Linked DNA regions of Homo sapiens: region 2 is linked to region 1. The links are contacts of gene promoters, found by promoter capture Hi-C in human tissues and cell types (Jung and others, 2019). All regions are on one chromosome and are shown on one strand. The core of a region is centred on a gene start or on the middle of the fragment in contact, and the rest is flanking DNA. Distances in the headings are between cores, read along the strand shown. Region 1 holds the start of RS1 (retinoschisin 1). Region 2 holds the start of LOC124905254 (a long non-coding RNA gene).

Region 1 (5,340 bases), core at 2,228-4,727:
AGGAGACCTAACGGAAGCCCTGGCATTTGCACCCCCTAGGCCTGTCCTCGGGAGGGGAAGAAGGCTGCGGGAAGGGGCAGGGGAGCGGGTAGAGGTCCACACCCTCGGGCAAAGGGCCCGCTAACCAGCGGCCCGTCCTCCTTGCTCCGGAGGCGAAGCCTTCCACGCCGCCGCAAGCGGCGACGTCCTGACTTCCGACCGGCAAGTGGGCCGGGTGGCCGAGGCTCAGTTTGCCGGTTGGGAAAATGGGAAGGCGCGGGGCCCTCGCGGGCGGAGGAAGCTGCCGGGGGCGCAAAGCCCGAGCAGGGTGCACTTCCGGCCGCCGGGCCGCCCCGCCGGCGCCTCGATTGAGGGAAAGTTTGGGGACAGATGATAGCAGGGAGGTGCTCTCGGCCGGGGTTCCGGCCTCGCCCTGGTCCCAGGGGCCGCGACTGTGGCGGGCAGGGAAGACAAGCCGCCCAAACGCCGGAGCCCGAGACTCGAAGCCGCCGCAAACTCCTCGCCTCGGGGGCGGGGTCACGGTGGAGAGGCGGGGCTCCGGCGGAGGGACCGGAACTGCTGTGAGTCTATGAATAAAGTCCCAACAATATTCTTCCTCGTAGAGGTTCCATAGTGTAGTGGTTATCACGTCTGCTTTACACGCAGAAGGTCCTGGGTTCGAGCCCCAGTGGAACCATAGCCGTAAGGCGGCTGTTTTTGCTTTTATAGGGTTTCGTTGTTTGGGTTAAAAAAAAAAAAGGGTTTGGGTTAAACAAACAAAAAAAACCAAAAAGCGACAACGAAGTGTTTTTCTTTGTCCTTTTTTTCTTTTTAATTTTTTGGCATGTTTTTCTCGCAGAAGTGAAATGACAGATACCCTCTCCTATCCCACAAGGTCACTGCCGCCATAGTCCGACATGAGAAGTAGTGGAGGGCAGGGGCCGGGCGAAGTCCTAGACCCGATCCGGCGCCCCCGATCCGGCCGGGCCCTACCCCACCTCTCCTCCCAGTACGCCTCGGAAAATCGGGCGCTCGGGGAATGCACCTGGCTGCCCTTTGCCTGCAAGCCAGCAAGGGCCGGCCACCCAACCTCCAACTAAAATGTGGCAGGCAATACAGCAGCGCTTTGACTGCAGGTGAATTATTAAAGGTCGGTCATGATTATGACTCTGATTAAAAGTTCTATTTTTCATTAAACTCTGATGTGCAGAGCACGAAAAAAAAAAAACCCCACAGTCCCTTTTAATGCAGCAGTAGAATTTGTGGAATAGAGTTCATACACAGTATAAAATAAATGTCAGGCTTGTAGACATTCAATAAATACTGGTTGAATGAGCAAACGTTTCTCTAGTTTCTTTCTGTTCCTCTTTACTATTTCATTACAGTTTCCTTTGGGGAGTTTATTATTTGTTTAAATATTGGCTTTTTTATCTTTGACAAGAGGAATGAGGGTGTGGGCCATGGTGAGATGGTGGTAGCAAAAAATATAAAATGGGAAGGGGCACTCAGTATTTTTCTCTGCATTTTCAACCTAGTTATGCATCCTTAACAGTGTAGAAATTTGCGTCTTTTTCTAACTTGAGTGTAACTCTTTCCCTGTTATTACAATCACTTCATCAACTTTATTCTTTTTTTTTTTTTTGGAGGCGGAGTCTCACTCTGTCGCCCAGGCTGGAGTGCAGTGTCGTGATCTCAGCTCACTGCAACCTCTGCCTCCCGGGTTCACACCATTCTCCTGCCTCAGCCTCCCGAGTAGCTGGGACTACAGGCGCCTGCCACCTCGCCCGGCTAATTTTTTGTATTTTTAGTTGAGACGGGGTTTCACCGTGTTAGCCAGGATGGTCTCGATCTCCTGACCTCGTGATCCGCCCGCCTCGGCCTCCCAAAGTGCTAGGATTACAGGCTTGAGCCACCGTGCCCGGCCTTTTTTAAAACCACCTTAACCATTTTTTTTTTTTTTTGAGACAGAGTCTGGCTCTGTCACCCAGGCTGGAGTGCAGTGGTACAATCTCGGCTCACTGAAACCTCGGCCTCCTGGGTTCAAGCGATTCTCCTGCCTCAGCCTCCCGAGTAGCTGAGATTATAGGTGCACGCCACCACGCCCGACTAATTTTTGTATTTTTGGTAGAGACGAGGTTTCGCCATGTTGCCCAGGCTGGTCTCGAACTCCTGACCTCAAGTGATCTGCCTGCCTTGGCCTCCCAAAGTGCTGGGATTACAGGTGTGAGCCACCACCTCCAGCCCACCATAATCATTTTTAAGTGTACAGTTCAGTAGTGTTAAGTATATTCACATTGTTGTGAAACAGATCTCGGGAACTTTTTCATCTTGCAAAACTCAACTCTATACCTATTAAACAACTCCCCTTTTCCTCCCATCAACTTTATTCTGAATGGTGATGTAAAAATAATAGCTAATTATGTCTAGCACTGTGCTAAGTATTTTATACATATGATCTCTTGTAAGCCTCAAAATAACTCTCGAAAGTAGGCATTATTATCATCATCTTACAGATGAGAAAGTTTAGGCGCAGAGATATTAATAACTTGCCCTGAGGTCACAATGTAACAAGTGCTAGTGCTGCGATTTGGCACCCAGTCTGGGTTGGCAGTCTGTGCTCTTAAACCTACCAGGCTGCACTCATCTCTTGATTTACTTAACCAGCCCCCTAACCTTGGCCATTTAGATTGTTTCCAATTTGTTGTTGTTAAAAGTAACACAGCAATGCACAGCTTTGTGTTAACTGTCCTCCCACCACCACCAAATTTAGCATTTTCCTGAGTGAATAGGTGTGCACATGATGCCTAGTTGCTTTCAAAGAGGGGAATCCATGACATTTTCATACAATTCGAGAATGTTAGTGCTTATGTGGCAGGAAATTGTTCAAGGTCACCCCCTAAAAAATGATGGCGAAGAAAGGACGAAAACCTGAGACTTCTGGTTGTAGTTCTCTCCCTCCATTGCTTCCCTTACATTAAGATAGAATGAACAGTATGGGCCGGGCGCAGTGGCTGACGCCTGTAATCCCAGCACTTTGGGAGGCCGAGGTGGGTGGATCACCTGAGGTCAGGAGTCCGAGACCAGCCTGACTGACATGACGAAACCCCATCTCTACTAAAAATACAAAAATTAGCTGGGCGTGGTGGCGTGAGCCTATAATCCCAGCTACTCGGAAGGCTGAGGCAGGAGACTAGATTGAACCCGGGAGGCAGAGGTTGCAGTGAGCCGAGATGGCGCCATTGCACTCCAGCCTGGGTGACAAGAGCGAAACTCCATCTCAAAAAAAAAAAAAAAAAAAAAAAAAAGAACGAAAAGTATCTTCCTCGCGAACTGAATCTCAGTTGATGCTAGTATCTTCCATGAGACTTCCTTGTTGAGGCAGGTAACTCTGTGGGTTAACTTGATGGGGCTCAGCCAAAGACCTAAGAACTAAATGGATTAAGATGCTTAATGAGGCCAGGGCTCAACTTAATCCCCTGCTCCTGGGCCAGCTCTCCAGTTCAGTAAGGTAGAGCTTTGGCCGAGGACGAGGGGAAGATGTCACGCAAGATAGAAGGCTTTTTGTTATTACTTCTCTTTGGCTATGAAGGTATGTGCTATTCAACCATTGACATTCATTGCATACTTAATACATAATTTAATTAATATCGTTGATAAATAGGAATATAGCCTGAATAATATAAATATTATTAATTAGCAACACGTTAATTAACTAACATGTGTTATTAATGAACAACAGTTGTCTTTGTGTGGATGGCTTTCCAGTTCTGTGAGGAGCCTTCTAAAGTTCAAAGGATGCTTAAAATCCAACAGAAAACAGGATGGGTCTCAGAAATCTATAAAATAGCCATAAGTTGCAACAATTAATGAGAAAGTATGGCATATTCTGGAAAACTTTTAGGAGTCAAAGTGGGAGTGATTGTAGAATTTAATATTCCAAACCGGAATGCTATTGACGGTGGAGGACGATGCTATTAATAATTCTGTTGGGACGACAGGTGTAACCCAGGACCATCCAGGGCAAATTGGGGTGTAAGGTCAACCTAGTTTAAATATGGATTAACGTAACATACCCAGTACCACTGGAATCTAATAAAAAACATAATCCAACTGAGAGTCAGGAAACCTCGGAGACTCAGTACACTCACTCATTTTAAAATTTCTAAATATGACCCTAGCAGAAGTGATATGCTTCAATTAGGAAAAAATAAGGGCAAATCTGTAAAATGTCATCCAGTTCCAATTCCCTCTCAATCTTTGAAATAATATTCTTTCATGCCTCTCTCAATTCTCAAGTACCCATCTGCTCAGAATTTCTCCTCAGGTTCATCCAGATGTTAGAAATTGGTTGCCTGTCTTCTTTGTGGACATCGTGTATTTGTGTGTTATAGAAAATAAATTAAAAAGCAGGGAGAAGGAGGTCTCTGTGCTCTGCAAATGACCTGGTAGACAGACACAGCGAAACTCACACAAGTAGAATCAGAATTCTTGGTTTCACGGCTCACTGTAGCCTCAACCTCCCAGGCTCAAGCCATCCTCCTGCCTCAGCCTCCCTAGTAGCTGGGACTACAGGCACGCACCACCACATCCGGCTAATTTATTGTATTTCTTGTAGAGAGGGGTTTTCACCATGTTTCCCAGGCTGATGACTTTTGTTACTTAGTCACATTTCTCAGTATTTGGAAAGACTGGTGACAATATAATTCCAAGGTCATTCTGCAAACCCCAAGGTATATTTCTAAGTAGGGATCATGTAAACCAGTTGTCTGTTAGGATTTTTTCCCCTTGCAATTAATAGTCTGCAACTTGTCCCAGTAACTCTGACTACTTTAAGATGCTTTGGGGTTTTGTTGTTTTTCCTTTTACTCCTTGCCCCCTCCTCTTTCCTCAGCAAGAAAATCTAAGCAGACTCTTTCAAGGCTTAGATCTAAATACTCCTGGTTGTCAGACACTCCCAGGGCTCACTCTCGGATTTCTCTTCTTTGTGATTGGCATGGAGATTCATTCATTCATTCCTTGGTCCCTTCTTTTAAGAGCTCATCCCTGACTATCTGCTAGGGGGCAAACATTGTGTATGACGGCGGGGCGCGGTGGCTCATGACTGTAATCCCAGCACTTTGGGAGGCTGAGGCGGGTCTATCACCTGAGGTCAGGAGTTTGAGACCAGCCTGCCCAACCTGGTGAAACCCCGTCTCTACAAAAATACAAAAAGTATCTGGGCATGATGGCAGGTGCCTCTAATCCCAGCTACTCGGGGGAGGCTGAAGCGGGAGAATCGTCTGATTGCTGGAGAGGGAGGTTGCAGTGAGCTGAGATCATGCCATTGCACTCCAGCCTGGGTGACTGAGCGAGACTCAGTCT
Region 2 (5,537 bases), core at 2,070-4,569, 160 kb before region 1:
AGAGCCTGTAAAAGTGTATGAATGTGTATCTTCCATAATCCACATTATATTTTTGGTAAGCTGGAATCACTACCTCTGATCACGTATCAGGCTAATGATGGAGAAAGCATTGGATTTAAGTTCAGGGCTAAGAACTGGTTTGTTTAAAAGTTTAAATTGTGGCCAGGCACGGTGGCTCATGCCTGTAATCCCAGCACTTTGGGAGGCCGAGGTGGGCAGATCATGAGGTCAGGAGTTCGAAACTAGCCTGGCCAACATAGTGAAACCCTATCTCTACCAAAAATACAAAAATTAGCCAGGTGTGGTGGCACGCACCTGTAGTCCCAGCTACTTGGGAGGCTGAGGCAGAAGAATTGCTTGAACCCGGGAGGCGGAGGTTGCAGTGAGCTGAAACGGCACCATTGGCGTCCGGCCTGGGTGACAGAGCAAGACTCTGTCTCAAAAAAAAAAAAAAAAAAGTTTAAATTGTTTGAAAGGGCATTTGTCTTCTTTAATGAATGATGATCTCACAATTCAGTTGACTTTGACCTAATATTTAAGAGTATAAATATATTTTCTTTGAAAAGGCTGAGTGGTGCCCTCAAACACTTGCTAAAACTGCCTAGGGCAGGATTCATTAGGGCTTGCAGGACAATGTCACCTAAATTGCTGAATGTACTCATTGTAATGTGATATCTGACAGAGGGGGTGCAGTGTTTCTGGGTCATTTTGGACCAACTGCAATGGTTGTTTCAGATGCTGGTTCCTGCACACTACTCTCAATCTACTGAAGCACATCTGGTTTTTTGTTTTGCCTTGCTTTTAGTTTTTAAAGTTTCCCCCAGTGATTCCAATGCACCTGAAAAATTGAGAACCACAGGCTCAGTGGTAGGTCAGGGTTTCCCACACTAGGCTGCACAGCATTATCACCTGGGAACATTAAAAAATACAGACATTCTCAATTCTTTTAGTGTAATTAGCTATGATGTGGATCCCATGTATTTTTTAAAGAGCTCCCCAGATAATTCTGATGTCAGGAGCCACCGGTATAGACTATCTAGTGAGTTGTATTATAAACAATAAAATACTTTAAAAGCTACCCAGTAACTTTTGGGATTAATTTTATGAAATAAATTCTGAACTGCTGTTTTTGATATAGTCAGACTTAAGACTGAAACCTAGCAGGCAGGCAATAGATATAGAATTCTAGTTAATTGAAATTTTGTGACCTGTATAAAAATAAATCATGTTTATTGAACGGATGGCAAGGTACATATACTTTCAGAATTGTATTAAGTTTTGAAGACTTTTTAAAAAAATGTCAAAATGTATATATATTAGTATCCACTATCTTAAGGTCGATTATAAACCAGAAGTACTGTTATCTTGGTGATTAAAATCTATAACTTTAGCTGTATTTCAATAACAAAAACATATCTTACTAGACTGAGTGTGGTATCTCATGTATGTAATCCCAGTGCTTTAGGAGGCTGAGGTGGGAGGACTCATTGAGCCCAGGAGTTCGAGGCTGCAGTGAGCTATAATTGCACCACTGCACTCCAGCCCAGATGACAGAGTGAGACCCTGTCTCTAAAAAAAACAAACAACATATCTTACTGACTAAACCTGAATGGAACTCATAATTAGTCTTTCTGTATTTTTCCACAAAATAGCGAATTGGTACTTGGGAGACTTCTGTTTTTTTGTTGTTGTTGTTGTTGAAAAAACTGCCTTTGTTCTGAAATTATATCACCTGTGTTCTGAACTAAGATGATGGGAGTTCATTTTGTATTTACTTTGCAGTAAGTATCATGTAAATACGCAAACGTTGAATGTAATATAGATTGTGATCGCAGTGGTTTTTTGGGTGATACAGTTTATAAATATACCAATTATACACCCTCATACATTTGTCTGATTTTGAATTTGTAAAATGAGGACTACTGTTTACACATTTAATACAAAAAAAGGTCTCCGGAAAAAAAAAAAAGATGAATACTCTAAGAAAACCTTGTTTTAACATAGGGGACTAAATTTTAGTTTTGTATTAGTGTACTTTTGATCTCAAAGCTTAATTTTTAGAAAACCCTATAAATAATTCCCTTCCAATTTTTGCCAACTTGATCACATACAAAATTCTTTTTTTTTGAGACAGGGTCTTGCTGTGTCACCCAGGCTGGAGTGCAATGGCGCAGTTGCGGCTCACTGCAGCCTCTGCCTCCCGGGTTCAAGTGATTCTCCTGCCTCAGCCTCCCGAGTAGCTGGGATTACAGGCATGCACCACCACACCCAGCTAATTTTTTTATTTTTAGCAGAGACGTGGTTCTGCCATGTTGGCCAGGCTGGTCTCGAACTCCTGACCTCAAGTGATCCGTCCACCTCGGCCTCCCAAAGTGCTGGGATTACAAGTGTGAGCCACCTCGCCTGGCCTACAAAATTCTTTTCATAGGATTCATCTCCTACACACCTACAACTTGCTCAGATCTCTTAGAACTTGCTCAAATCTTGTACAACTTGCTTAAACCTTCAGTTTTGTTCTATACTTCCTTCTTTTTCATATTGGAACAACCAATCATTCTACTTTATGACAAAAATTTACTTTCCTTTTTCCCTTATCATTTTGACAACACAAATTCTTCCTCATACAAAAAAAAAATTACTTTTTCTCTTTTCAACTTTTTTTTAAGCCAAACATACGTTTTCATACTTGTAACTTTCTTGACATCCCTCTTACTGGTTCCTCCCTACCTCATTTCTATTTCCTTCCAAAATCCTTATTTTGAAACAACTTTTAAATAACCTCCAAATTAGACAAAATTATTCTTTTTAAGAAAAAAGTATCCTTCTATTTTTTCCTCACCAAAACACATCTTACTTTCTTTAGTTTGCATACAGAATTCCTTTATAGTAGTTTTATTATTGGAATTTTTAATCCTTAGCAATTGTGAATCAGTATTCTATAAATTAAGTTTCATAATTTCTAGAAATATGCACTTTCTCAAAGTACAATTTTTCATATTAACAGACCAAAATATATTTATTTTTCCATAGCTTTTCTTTAAATAGACTAAAATATATTCAGTCTTTATTTTATCTTATTTTTTGAGACAGAGTCTTGCTCTGTCACCCAGGCTGGAGTGCAGTGGCGCGATCTCACTGCAACCTCCACCTCCTGGGTTCAAGCAATTCTCCTGCCTCAGCCTCTGAGTAGCTGGGATTACAGAAGCCCACCACCGCGCCCAGCAAATTTTTGTATTTTTAGTAGAGACGGGGTTTCACCATGTTGTCCAGGCTGATCTGGAACTCCTGACCTCGTGATCCGCCCACCTCGGCCTCCCAAAGTGCTGGGATTACAGGCATGAGCCACTGCACCCAGCCATATTTAGTCTTTCTATAAAATTTAAGAAGCCAAAAATAAATTTAAAGTTACGTTCAAATTAATGTTTCAGTATTCTAACTTAATTGGAAATGACTCAGACAGTTCATGAATATTACTTAATCATAACAGGACTTTAAGTTACGGTAAAAGGTTTTCAAAACTGAAAAGTTCATTTATCAATTTGTATACCATTTACATACACCTAATTTACTCATTTTTAACAATTATGCTTGAGTTGTTCATTAAGCAAAGCTAGCCATCACCTCAAGTTATTTTTCAAAAAAATCAGGAAACTATAAGTATTACAGAAGCAAAAAGATTAATAGGTTAAACATGGTTCTTCCACTCTGCTTTTTTTCCCTTTCCTATTGGGACGGGTTAGTTCTCTTGAACTCCTTCGTGGGCGGAAACTGGAGTAGCTCATTCCACTCAGCCCGCACTGGCTACTCTTGGCAGGAGGGAGCGTGCAAGCGAGTGAGTGCAGGAACCAGAGCAAATGAATCCTGGGACCGACTGGTCACTCTTCTCTGGTGGGAGCAGGCTCTTGTGGGCCCTGCAGCAGCGTCCAAGCATGTTACGACCAATGCTCTTTCAGTTCTGCCATCCGGGGATGGCCAAGTGCCAACCAGGTCAGTGGAGGGTCAGGGTGGCAAACCCTGCCCTCTCAGAACCTGGGTTCATGTCCGATGAACTGTTAGAAAGGTGATGAATGCAGACTTTATTGAGCGGTGGGTGGCTCTCAGCAGAAAGGGAGGCTGGAAAGGGGATGGGAGGGTGATCTTTCCCTGAAGCCCGGCCGTCTCTGGCTGGGCTCCTCTCCGAAGCCGCACCGCCTGAAGTTAGCCGTGTCTATCCATAGTCTCTGACGCGCACTGCTTCTCTGCTCACCACTCAGCTGCTTGTATCCTTGACATTCAGCCACTTGTGTTGCTCTGCCAGCTGAAGTCTTTCATCGGCAAAGGATAGGGGCAGGGCAGGCCAAAAACGGCAACATTTGGCTGGAAAAAAACGGGGTCAGCTGTTTTCACTTAGGGCCAAGGTTCCAGGCTTATGGGTTGGGTTTAGCCAGGAGCCCAGCCCTTCTGTATCACCATGACTGATAGGTATCAAGATTTTTTTTTTTTTCATGTATTTTGCTCTTTGGTTGGCTTTATAGCTTTATTATACATCTAAGAGGTAATAAGCTTGTTTGACTAGTAAATTTAGGGGAAAAATATGCTTGCTTTATAATTAATGACTTTAAACACTTTTTCTTTAAGCCAATTAAATAGAGCTCTTTTATATATTTTGGTATGAAAATATCAGATACACATAACACATAGATATACAAACATACACACAGAAAGAAGCAGATCTTATTGCTTTCATTAAGATTCATTTGCCCGGTCGGGCGCGGTGGCTCACTCCTGTAATCCCAGCACTTTGGGAGTCCGAGGTGGGCGGAACACGAGGTCAGGAGATCGAGACTATCCTGGCTAATACTGTGAAACCCCGTCTTTACTAAAAATACAAAAACAATTAGCCGGGCATGGTGGCCGGCACCTGTAGTCCCAGCTACTGGGGAGGCTGAGGCAGGACAATGGGGTGAACCAACCCGGGAGGCAGAGCTTGCAGTGAGCCAAGATCACGCCACCGCACTCCAGCCTGGGCGACTGAGCAAGACTCCATCTCAGAAAAAAAAAAAGATGGACAGGAAAAGCAACTTAAACAAAGGTAAACGTTGATATGCAAGCTTTTAAGCCAGTGCCTTTCTCATTGTAAAAGTTTCTAATGGTTTAGGTGCAGAGAGGGAGATAGCCTTACAAATGGAGATTTCCTTTACAGATATAAATTTCTCTTAGAAAGAATTTCAAAATCCTGTTCCTTACTTAGATCATTGCCTTCAGGGCAGAGCTTTTTAACAAACAGGGCAAAAACTAACCAGTAGAAACTTACCAGAGCTGTCTTCGGAGGCCTGTCAGTCTTGGTGGTTAACATAGAGATGATCAGAGGTAGGCAGCTTGTTTTTAAGGGCTTCTCTCAAGTTCTTTGGGAGCAGTCCCTTTTTCAATGTTTTGATCATTTGCACAAATGACAACTAGTTTTTCGAAACCGCAGTTTTAGGGGTTGCTTATTGGAATGCCCTGGGGCAGGCCCACAAGTCATTCTAGGTTGTTGGTTGCCATAGAGCTGAAATACT

The links. Contacts are between HindIII fragments. The study calls those that stand out against the background at their distance.
Region 2: a contact is called between a fragment that was not itself captured here and the fragment with the promoter of RS1 in region 1, in 6 of the 25 tissues and cell types used here (H1 embryonic stem cells, aorta, bladder and 3 more).

What each region holds. Positions count from the first base shown.
Region 1 is chrX:18,670,245-18,675,584 of GRCh38, reverse strand. It overlaps RS1 (retinoschisin 1), which reads left to right and starts at 3,477. Exons shown (of 6, transcript NM_000330.4): 1 at 3,477-3,568. The coding sequence starts at 3,517. It overlaps TRV-TAC1-2 (tRNA-Val (anticodon TAC) 1-2), which reads left to right and starts at 604; the gene lies at 604-676. It also overlaps a transcript of PPEF1 not described here. RefSeq lists a silencer at 493-679. The HindIII fragment of the contact is 16,600 bases long and covers 1-5,340 here.
Region 2 is chrX:18,831,929-18,837,465 of GRCh38, reverse strand. It overlaps LOC124905254 (a long non-coding RNA gene), which reads right to left and starts at 5,341. Exons shown (of 2, transcript XR_007068404.1): 1 at 5,294-5,341; 2 at 1,719-4,356. It also overlaps the pseudogene BLOC1S6P1. RefSeq lists an enhancer at 3,528-4,451. The HindIII fragment of the contact is 5,178 bases long and covers 731-5,537 here.